Linked DNA regions of Homo sapiens: region 1 is linked to region 2. Evidence: promoter capture Hi-C in 16 types of primary human blood cells and fetal thymus (Javierre and others, 2016). All regions are on one chromosome and are shown on one strand. Each heading gives the region's core, a stretch centred on a gene start or on the middle of the fragment in contact. The rest is flanking DNA. Distances are from core to core; before and after follow the strand shown.

Region 1 (5,406 bases), core at 1,705-4,204, 6.8 Mb after region 2:
CTTTGGAGGGAGGACGCCGTTTACTTCCCGCAGACGACGGGCGGGAAGACCTCGGAGCTGAGGGCTTCTTGGGGTGGCTCTTTGAGCAGGTAATTCTGCGGCGAAATCGAGAGCGGGTGACTGACACGCTCGGTGACGACGGCCAGGCGGGGCAGCACCCTTTCCGGTTAACAAAATGATTAACCTTCCTGCCTTGCCTGTAGTGGGCTCTCCCCTCCTCCTTCACCCTCCCTTCCTCCGGGATTAGGGGGTGCTCTTTTCAAGGAGAGACTGGAGACTCGAGATGTGGGCCCTTTCTCGCCTCCGCGCGGCCTTTCCTCGGAGCCAGGCTGGGGAACCCGGTGAGGCACGCAGACCAGTCCCTTCGAGACGCCCGCCTCGCGGAATCGGGTTCACCGGCCCTGTCCCGCACGGTCCCCTGGGTCATCTCCCCCTGCAACCACTTGTCTGAAACTTACCAGATTCCAACCTTAAGGCAGGAAAAAAAGTGTTTCATATACAAACTGATCAGGGTATTTGCAGATAATTGCGAATGTCAAATACTCGGGCGTGATGACAAAGTGCAGAGATTGCCAGGGCCAGAGCTTGGCCTGAGGGGCGGGGGCTGCTGGCGGGGCTCCAGGGCCACCTCAGGCCTGCCCAGAGGCGGGCCTGCGAGGGGTAGAGCAGTCAGCCGCAACTGCCAACAGCCCATTTAACGAAGACGGCTGCTTCTTCTACCCCTCGGCTATGGAGCTGATTCATGGATTCATTCACTTAGTCTATACTGGAGCTCCGCTCAGGGAGGAGGTGCGAGAGTGGATACTGCACCAGCCCAGCTCTCTCTCCCTCACTCCCCACTCCTGATGCACAAATACCTCACTGCAAGATTCCCCACAGGTGGAATTGCTGGGCCTCAGTTGGATGCTTAGGCCCAAAGCGAAGGCCCTGCCAGGCGGTGCTCCCAGAGCTAATGTCCTGTGGCAGAGTAGGAAAGAGCTACAAGCCATTTAGGACAAACAAGTGCACCCTTTGATACTGAGGTTAGTCTTCAATAGAAATAAAGAGGGACATTAAAAAAAAAAAAAGGAAGAGGAAGAAACGAAATACTGGACCCACCCACCCCAGTCCTCCTACCGGGTTGCAGGAAGCCATCCTGGTGCCATCAGAGCCTGGGTGCAAACGGCCCACCAGAGCTGACCCTGCCAAGCTCTCAGTGACAGCAAAGGTGGCTGCTCTCAACAGCTTTCAGAGCAACTCCTCTGAGACCCTACTGCAGGCACACTCAGAATGTTTCAAGTGCCTTGGATTCTTAAAAAAAAAAAAGAGAGAGAGAGAGAGAAAGAAAAAGAAAGAAAGAAAGAAAGAAAAAAGAGTGGGGCGTGGAGGGTGGTGTTACTCTTGTTGGATTCCACATCTACTGAAAACTGAGTGGATCAATTATGGGTGATACCATGATGTTGGTGGCAAGTCTGGCTTCCCAGGCCAGAATCGCAGGGGTTTCAGGACCTGGATGCTGAGACCGAGAGGAGCAGTGGAGGCAGGGACACCCCATTCTGCATTAGGTGGCATAAGCTGCAGTCACTGAGGCCCTGGCCCCGGGGTCCTGTGTCCTAGGCCAACGTGGTGGTGGTGAGGGGGCTGGGAGGGGTATATTGCGGTAGGGATGCTGAAAGACCTTGACCTGACTGCCCTCTCCTTTCTGAGAGCTAAAGAATGTGGTGGGGATTCTTCCAAAGCCGGGAGAAGGCAAGACTAGTGTGTGCTAGTGGGTGCAGCTGGGCTGCAGAGGGAGGGAATTCCTGCCGACTACAGGGAGCCCTCTGTGCTTGTCTCTCTCCCCCGCCCTCAGCCCTCTTCCCCTTTCATTGAATGCCTGAAGTCAGAGCCTACCTGGAAACCCTCAAAATTTTACACTCCACTTGTCCGAGGTTTCCAATGATGACAAATTTGAAAAACGCTTCGGCTGAAGCCCGGCACCTAAGGCTGAGAGTTGGGGGGAGGGGAGGCTGTTGGATAAAAGCTCCTTGGAAAAGACACACTTGCCTCCCCCTTTTTCGCCACGCGGAAACTGGCCGGTCTGGACAAGGGATTGCGCTGGGCTAAGGCCTCGGGCTGGGGAGAGCTCCAGCAGCCTGAAAGCCGAATCCGCAGAAGTTATCCACCTGGCTCCTTAGCCACCGGCCAACAAGAGGGCTCTGGGCGTCCCGCCCTTCACGCCTGTATTAGAAAGGCCTGAGTCTGGCCGGGAGACCTGACTTGAGGTCTCTTGGGAGGAGCAGGGGGTGCCAGTTCTGCAGGGGACTTGCCCAGTTCCAGTGAGGCTGATGTAGAAAACAATAGCTCTGTCCTCAGCCTGGGCGGCCAGCCGGGGCCGCACGTGTAAGATGTGATTCTATCTGAGTTTCCAAATCTAAGTGCATTGATTGAGGCCCAAAGAGTTCACGGCGCATAACTGTCTTAATTAAACCTGCTATAAACAGACAAATCACTTCTTGTTCTTGTAAATAGAGCTTGGGGAGATGGCACAGGGTCTGGCAAAAGCCAGGCTTGGGGAACATTCTTAAAAAAGGAAAAGAGTACTGAGACACAGACAGAAAAAGAATAAAACTGGAGTATCCACATCTTCAGAAAATAGCTCAACTGAAACCAAAATATGCCATAGCAGGGAAGTAATGTGAGACACCCTAAGTTCCCAGAGCAGCTCAGTGGAGGCTGGTAGCCCAGGATGGGACCAATGGTGGAAAAGCAGGGAGCCGGAGAGACCACAGGTTGTTTGGGGGAGGACAGGTGCCCATTGCTGAGGCTCTGAGCTACTCTACTTGGCCCTGCACTTTCCTTGCCAATCCTTCCATCTTTCCCTGCCACTGATCTCAACTTCCTGATACTGAGAGACAGTGCTGGGAGGACAAGTACTCTCTCAACTTGGTCAGCTTGGGGGACAAGGGCTGGTCACCAAGAGCTCAGAGATAGCAACAACTGGGGATGATGGGTGATCATAGGAGTCCAGCGGGAGCAGATGGGAAGAAAAGTTGTCTGTGATCCTCTGGGAAAGCAGAAAATGGGGAGTATGTACACCCACAGCTCAGATTCTGCTGTCCCTAAGTGCCGGCAAGGGCTGGGGGATGATCTTGAGTAGGGTCAGGTGCTCCAGTGCCCCAGCTGTTGGGTGTCCAGAAGAGGTTAGGTGTGTGGTAGCTCTGGGAAGAATGCGCGAGACGTCCTTCACTTGGAATGTGCAAAGGGCCGGGTCTGTCTCCAAGTAACTCCGGGTCTCCGGAAGTTACCTGGCAGGGGCAGCCCTCAGCAGACTTTGGGTCTTACAGCATAAAACGAGACGAACTAAGGGGAGCCCACCACTTTTCTAGCTAAAAGTGGAAAGGAAAAGTTGTCTATAATATGTAAATACAGGAGATATGAGTGCACAGGTTTGGGTGGGTTCCTGGTAACTTCTGGAGCCGACTTTTCCCTGGTCTTGGTTTGCAAACTTTAATTCCCATTTCTTTTCCTTTACTATTTAGCATATGACTCTAACAATAATCTGATTCAGAAATACTCTTCATTTCGTTAGGCTAACATTGATAAGGAATTTAAGTTCAGGTAAATTTTAGCACAACACTTTTCTAAAAAGTAACTTTAAAAGTGTTTTTAACTTCCACACAACAAAAACGAAAAAAGTATATATCACTATGGTTGGAGAGAAACATTCTTAGATTGCCTTTATATTTCAGAGACTTTGTATAGGTGCCAGCAACTCCGCAGACACTAACAAATGGGTTATTTGCAGTTATTGTTCATGAAAGGTCTTTTATATTTTTAAATTACGGCATGGTTCCCAGGTGGAAAAATTCCTTACAATTAAGAACTGGTTTTCAAGAAGATTGGAAAACCAGAACAAAAATTACAACGTTTTATCATATAGAAGTCTTTACTGAAAACAACGGATATTGAGTGGAAGTCAGAATGTAATGAAAGTTAATTAAAATGCAAACTATTAGGGAAACACTGCAGATGTCTTTCTGTCATATCCAACGGGACAGTCTTTAGATATTCCACCCTCCCTTATATTATACTTGTATTGTGAGACTTGAATGGTTGTCAACAGTTTTCTGTTGACAGAAATAACAACAGTTCACCTTTGAAAACTCTTCACTCAAAGCTACAATGATGATTGCTCTCGAGACAAGGACTGCTGAAACAAATAACTTTCACACATCTACACTCACACTTGCACACCCCAAACGCACACGCAATTGCCGGTTTTTGAAAACGTTGCCTCTGAATGAGAAAGAGAGAGAGAGAGAGAGACTGAGAAAGTCGAACTCGAGCTTAGGTAACCAACAAACCCAATTACTAGGCTTTATTGATACTAAAAGGAAAAGTTCCCCTCGTAAAATTTCTCTGAGCTTATTAGTTATTTAAATCAGCCCCAGGGTTGGACGCGTGACGCCGAAGGCACCTTCTGTCGGCTCCTGGAGGTGAGCAGCCAGCGTCCCTGCGCCGACCCACAGCCCCTCGCTCCGTCCTGGGCACTTGGGGCGAAGGCGGGCGCAGCGAGCCGAGGTGAGCCACTGGGCAGGGGCGCAGGGCCCGACACGCCGGGAGAGAGCTCCGCGTGGCCTAGGGTAGGACACCGGGCATCACACTTTGGAAAGGAACAGGTCCCAGCCAATAATAAGGGAGTAGGCGAGTAGGCCACGCGACCGCGGGGCGCAGGAGCTCAGCCGGCCCGCTGCCTGGCTCGCCAGACCCCGGCCCGCTGGGCACCGGCCCCTGCGACCCGGCCGGAGCGCTGGTGTTCGCGCCGTGAGTCGGGCGCGGGGCGTCTCAGACCTCCAGGGCTCGCTAGTGTTTTGTGTGGGTCTGGGAGCTTTGCAATTGGGTGGGCACCAGGTGAATTTACACCTTTCTGGGTCGCTGTCTCAATAGTTGACAAGTCCCTCTGTGTGTGTGTGTGTGTGTGTGCGCGCGCGCGCGTGGAAATGGTGGTGGGGGTGTATGTGAACAGCTGAATTTATTGAAAATAAACCCCAACCCGCCCAGTGAAGTCCTCTAAGCCCGACACGGGGTTCCCAAGTCCGGATGTGGCTCCGGGACCGCGCGAGGCGATGCCCTGTTCCTCTGGGCTTGGCTGTAGGGCGGGGAGGGAAGGCACCACGGGGTGGGGGAGAACTGAGCCCGAGTCGCCGCCGTCACAGTCACTTGGGCCTTTCCCGGAGGCCAAGGTCTTGACGGACTGAAACGGTGTCCGAGGGGATTCGTGATACCGAGAAAACAGGCGAGGCGCCAGCTCGGGAAGCCCTCTAAGTTGGCCCCCACTCCTTACGAGTTTGGGCCGCCGGATACACTGCCCCCCTCGTCCCTGGCTCCAGTAGGTGTCTGGGACCGTGGGTCCCGCAGCGGGCTTTTTCGCCCTCTCCGCTTGGT
Region 2 (6,010 bases), core at 817-3,316:
ATGATTAATTCCCATTTAACAAATCAGGGAACTGAGGTTGAGAGAAAAGAGGTATCTTGTTGCAGGTCTCACACCAATAACCAGCGTAACTGAGATGTGATCACTGGTCAATTTGAGTAGTTTATGCTTTAACCTCTTAACGACTTAGACACTTCCTCTCTGTATTTTTAGGAATACTACTTGTTTTAATATTAGGTGAAAACAAATAATTAGGACTCTTATTTGCTGCAATCAACATCACCACTATTCCAAAGAAAAAATAAAACTAATGTCTAGTTTAATTGCATCTTGCTCATTTGAGTGCTGACAGTACCTTGGATTAGCGACTCTCAAGATTATTTAACATGACACACAGGAACCAATAAATTTTTAATTACAACCGAGCACACACGCACAGGCACATACGCACACTTAAAAGATTTTTCACAAAACAATACTCTCATTACATGTAATGCAGTCTGATATTTTCTATGCGATCTTACTTTTTTTAATGCTAGTCACGACCCACTAAATTTCACAATGCACACGCGCACAGTTAAAATATTTTTCACAAAACAATACTCTCATTACATATAATGCATTCTGATTTTTTTATGCGATCTTATTTTTTTTTAAATGCTAGTCATGACTAAATTAATTTCACCATTCACGAACCGGCTGAAAAAACTCAGTTTGAAAAAACACTGCCTCCAATTATTATGCAGAGTAAACCATATTTTATAGAAACCAGTTCTTACCCTGAATTCAGCTTATTTCTATCCAAATCACTGGCCACTGCAGTGATACTTTATCAACTCTCTAACGAGTTGCTTTCTTGCCTTCTAGGCTTTAGGTTCAAACGATAGAGAAAAGGTCTTCCACGTATTAAGTGAAAAAAGCAAATAAACACCCCTTATGTAACACACGTATATATGTTTGTGTATTAATTAAAAAGGAAGGAAAGATACCCCCCAAATTGTTAGCAGATTCTCTCGAGGATGAGATCGCTACAGGCTGCCTCCATCGTCCCTCCCCCTCCCCACACGTAGCATATTGCTGTAAAAAAGAAAAACAAAAACAAGCTATTTCCTTTAGGTGGGGGTGGGGTTTTGGTCCCTTGAGAACCAGTATCTTGTTATGCATTTTTTTCACGAGCTACCAAGAATCATCGCGTGAGATAATCGCAGGAGCTGGTAAGGCCCTTCTTAGGAGCAAGTAAAAACGATGGCGTAACACGACCACATTTACACAACTGTTGCACGGCGGTAGTAAAAGAATCATTAACACAAAAATCAAACGTTTTCAAATAAACTATAATCGCCCGAGGCTGGGAAAGGCCTAGGTCTGGGGCCAGCTGGACCCAACGCAGGGCACTGGGGGAAGGGGGTGTGTGGACAGGTGGCTCGGGATCTCGGCCCCACAGGTGCCCAGGGGCAAGACTCCGCGGGTTCCCGGCCCTCAATCCGACCCCGCAGACCGCCCCCTCCCCAAGCCCGGACCCGAGGCCTCGTCCGCCGGCCCCTCTGACCCAGGGCCCCGGACAGAAGCGCAATGCAGCCTGCGCCCCACCTCCTTCCCTCGCCCCGCCACCTCGATCCCGGCCCGGAGCCGCCGACACCTCTCACGCAGCAGGGGCAGAAAGGGACGCGGGGTGGGGGGAAGCCGAGGACCTGCGAGGCGGCCGCGGGAGCCCAGCGAGCGGTCCTGGCGTCCCTCGGGAAGAAGGCGCCCCGGGCGCCCGGCGAGCAGGCCCCGCCCGCGGGCGTCGCCCCGGCCGCGCCCCGCCCCCGCCGCGGCACTCACCTCCGCGGAGGCTGCCCGGATTCCTTCCGGGCCGCGGTGGAGACCGAGGACCGAGCCGGGCGCTCTCCCTTCTTATTCCGGTTCCGCGGCGGCGCCCGAATCCCAGACCGTCCGAGCGCCACGGCCCCGCTGCCCGCGGAGCCAGAAATAGGCGACTTCGGCCCCTGCGGTCCGGAGGCGAGAAGCGGCGCGGGAGCGCGTCTCTCAGGACGCGGGCCCCGAGTCGCGACTCCACTCACGCAGGCATCCAAGGCAACGTGGCGTTGCAACCCTGATGGAGGTTTGACGTCAGGGAAGGTGCGAAAACCAGACCCCTTCTGACGCAGGAGCGGCGGGACCGCCCCCTGCCCGCCCACCCACTCACTCACTCTCCCACCCGGGCGGAGGAGCCCCTTCCTCCCCTCCAGAAGCTCTTAAAGCGGACACTTCCTCCCTGGTCAGGGCCCCACTCCGGAGCTTGGGAAATCTATCGCGTTCCAACAAAAATGACTAGACTCATAAGCACAGTTGGGACGCGAAGTAGAGACCAAGGTTTTAGCGTTTGAGGGTCCAAATAAAAACTGCTTGCCAATTCAAAGCAACGTATGAATGTAGAAAAGAAAACGGGGCTAAGAGAGCTAGTCGTTTCCGTTTCCATGCCTATTTCATAGTGAGGTGCATCTCACAAAAGCTGCTGTTCAATGAGCGCTTGCTCTGTGCTAGGCACCGTTTAAGGTTTCTATACATTATTGCATTTCATTTCAGAGTAACTCTGAATGAATCCTATTATTGTCCCCCTTTGACAAATTGAGAAAACTGAGGCTTAAGGAAGTTAGGTATTCAAAGATCTATCCTGCACATTAAAGGGTTACAAATATTAACAAACAACATTAGGTCATGCAATTATATTCACTGCGCTACCCCATTACGAATATAGTTGTGAGCAAAAACAGTTTAAGTGTAACGGAGATCACAAACCTAAATGAATCACACTACTGAATATGAAATTATAATCTGCGATAAGAAGGTTCTGAAACACCTAAACCAATTTTACTAAAATGGAGAGAGGCCCTGTTGCAAAGCTTATGTCTAATGTAAAAATAATCTTAAAATGAGCTACTTTGCTCTTTGGCTGTAGCTGTAATTGTCGTTACCCTTTTTAGTAAGCTTGTGATTTTGTCCCTTTAAAGAACAACAACAAAAAAACTTGCCTATTGCTTTTGCGTCCATTGTTTTTATTCTTTCTGTATTTCTCAGCTCCTTCTTCCCCCACTACATCTTTCTCTCACTTTAAAGTTGGGCTCCTGCAACTGTTCGATTTATAACCTCCCTTAGATTTAACATACCAAAAAGTACGGATTTCTTTTAAGGCAAGTTTTTTCCACATCCCAACTTTGGAATTATAGAAAATCCACTATACATTGATCGAAGCACCATGACATTATGTATTTCACAGATGCTAAGCCATGTTTTTCCCCACATTTTAACATCTGTGAAATCAAGATGCATCTTATAAACTCTCGTTGACCGGGTGGCAGTACAGACCTGGTTGTCATTACCTCCACGTATTACAACGTGGATGTTGCTGTGCAGGTTGTCCTCATTTCAACTGAGATAAGTGCATTGTTTAATAAAACCCATAACCCTAGGAGGAAGGGAATTAACAGACAAAAGTCACTCAAACTTGGAGAGAGATTTTCCTAGGGAAAGAGGGAAGATTTGCCTGGAGAAGATTTTCCTAGGACCAAAAAGAGATTTCCCCAGCATTTAGAAAAGAAAGAGATGGGACTGGCTAAGAACTAGTAGTCTTCTGGGAGCCCTGAGTTACTTACCAAGTACATTCATTCTTGATGGATTTTGGGAACCCATATATGAACAGTTAAATACTAAGCCTACTTGCACCCCCCAAAAATGAAATAACTTCGATATTATTCTTGATAGCCTGATTAGTCAGTTACAACCCCTACAGCTTTTATTCAATAACACCATTGAAGGAGGAAAACAAGTCCTGAATGTTTTGCGTGAAAACACAAAATTGACATATTCAGGTGAGATCAAGAAGGTGCCAGCATCAAAACTTGCAGAATAAGATCAGCTGCTTGGAAGAAAATCCTGCATACAATAGTGCAGCATTCTTCCTTCCTTTCTCTCCCTCTCTGTTTTTTGTTTTTGTTTTTGTTTTTGTTTTGAGACAGGGTCTCCTTCTGTCACCCAGGCTGGAGTTCAGTGGCGCAAACACGGCTCACTGCAGCCTTGACCTCCCAAGCTCAAGCGATCTTCTTGCCTTAGTCTCCAAAGTGGCTGGGACCACAGGCGTGTGCCACCATGCCTGGCTAATTTTTTTACTTTTTGTAGAGATGGGGGTTCTCACTTTTTTGCCCAGGCTGGTCTCGAACTCCTGGCTTCAAGGGATCCTCCCACATTCACCTCCCAAAGTGCTGAGATTACAGATATGAGCTGTAACTGTGCCCAGCTGGAGCATTCTTAAAGTTAGATGCATCACCAACACTTTTGGTGGAAAGCTACAGCCATGGACAACTGATTCAAAAAGTGATTCATAAAAGTTGAGCTCTGGGCTTGGCGCGGTGGCTCACGCCTGTAATCCCAGCACTTTGGGAGCGCGAGGTGGGCGGATCACCTGAGGTCAGGAGTTTGAGACCAGCCTGGCCAACATGGCGAAACTCCATCTCTACTAAAAAAAAACACAAAAATTAGCCAGGCATGGTGGTACATGCCTGTAATCCCAGCTACTGGGGAGGCTGAGGCAGGAGAATCACTTGAACTTGGGAGGCGGAGGTTGCAGTGAGCTGAGACCGTGCCACTGCACTCCAGCCTGGGTAACAGAGTGAGACTTCGTCTCAAAATAAATAAATAAATTAATTAATTAAAAAAATAAATAAAATGAAAGTTGAGTTCCGAATATGAAGTTTCTGAAATACCTAAACCAATTTTACTTATATGTCTCTTTTTATGCATTCACAAGATCAATGCATAATAAATGTGTCAAAGTCTGAGAGTGCTCTTTTACTGAGTATGAAATAAAAATAGGCCAGGTATGGTGGCTCGCACCTGTAGTCCCAGCAATTTGGGAGGCTAAGGCGGGAGGATCGCTTGATCCCAGGAGTTCAAGACCAACTTGGGAAACAGCGAGACCTCATCTCTACAAAAACTACAAAAAAATCAGCCAGGCATGGTGGTGCATGCCTGTAGTCCCAGCTACTCAGGAGGCTGAAGCGGGGGAATCACCTGAGCCCGGGATGTAGAGGCTGCAGCGAGCCGTGATCGCACCACTGCATTCCAGCCTGGACAACAGTGTAAAACCCTGTCTCAAAGAGAAAAAAGAAAAGAAAAAAAGAAAAACACTAAATTACAAGAAATTGTGTTATAGTTTAGTTGGCAAAATTTTTCTTCCAACATGATACTATCATAAAACATCAAAGGGAGTGCCATTCTGCATCAGATCAGCAGTCCGCACAAACCAGATTTCCGTCTACTGGCAATGGGCACGTTTTGTGGGAGAGCTTAGTTATCTATAAGGTTAAGCTCCAAAAGTTGTAATTTCCCCCTCAATTCTTTATTAACCCATTACAGATCTAAACACATTACACATCTAAACATATTTAAAGGACCTTAGAGATCAGGATTGGGTTTGTATGTACTTCATTTCCTCCCCCAACATATTTGGTCCAGGGAGAAAAAAGTGCTGAGTATGTGTTATTTCACATGCTTCCTTCTTTTAAGGAACACCAAAACCTGCTCTTTTGTGTCTAGAAAGCACTCCAATAATGTCTACATTTTGTAAGCCATTTAAGCTAATATTAGGCTAATGTCTTAAGGAAAGGCTATTTGGAAAAAACAAGATCTCATAGCTGGGTCATAAAAGAATTGAGATTTCACCAATTTAGAGTGTGGACTATGTCTTTTCCCAAATTCTATTACTGTGTGCTTCATTCTACCTATTTACAGTCAGGTGAGGTCATTATAAAGCTTTTACCCCGAAGCCTGGCATGTTAGGTCTTTAAAAAGTAAAATGTTTTCTTTAAGCATAAAGGGATTCATGCACATGCCCCATCCAAATCATTATTTTAAAATAATTGTGGGCCGGGCACCGTGGCTCACACCTGTAATCCCAGCACGTTGGGAGGCTGAGGCGGGCGGATCATTTGAGCTCAGGAGTTCAAGACAAGCTTGACCAACATGGTGAAACCCCATCTCTTCTAAAAATAAAAATTTGGCTGGGCATGGCGGC

The links. Contacts are between HindIII fragments. The CHiCAGO score rates a contact against its expected background, and 5 or more counts as called.
Region 1: a contact is called between a fragment that was not itself captured here and the fragment with the promoter of ZDBF2 in region 2, in 2 of 17 cell types (total B cells and naive B cells). The highest score is 18.6, in total B cells.

Annotation. Positions count from the first base shown.
Region 1 is chr2:199,463,972-199,469,377 of GRCh38, reverse strand. It overlaps SATB2-AS1 (SATB2 antisense RNA 1), which reads right to left and starts at 1,280. Exons shown (of 2, transcript NR_026830.1): 1 at 1,117-1,280. It also overlaps a transcript of SATB2 not described here. The HindIII fragment of the contact is 8,458 bases long and covers 1-5,406 here.
Region 2 is chr2:206,270,719-206,276,728 of GRCh38, reverse strand. ZDBF2 (zinc finger DBF-type containing 2) reads right to left here and starts at 2,066. Exons shown (of 5, transcript NM_020923.3): 1 at 1,783-2,066. RefSeq lists an enhancer at 1,209-1,708 and silencers at 1,372-1,831, 2,112-2,171. The HindIII fragment of the contact is 6,855 bases long and covers 1-2,845 here.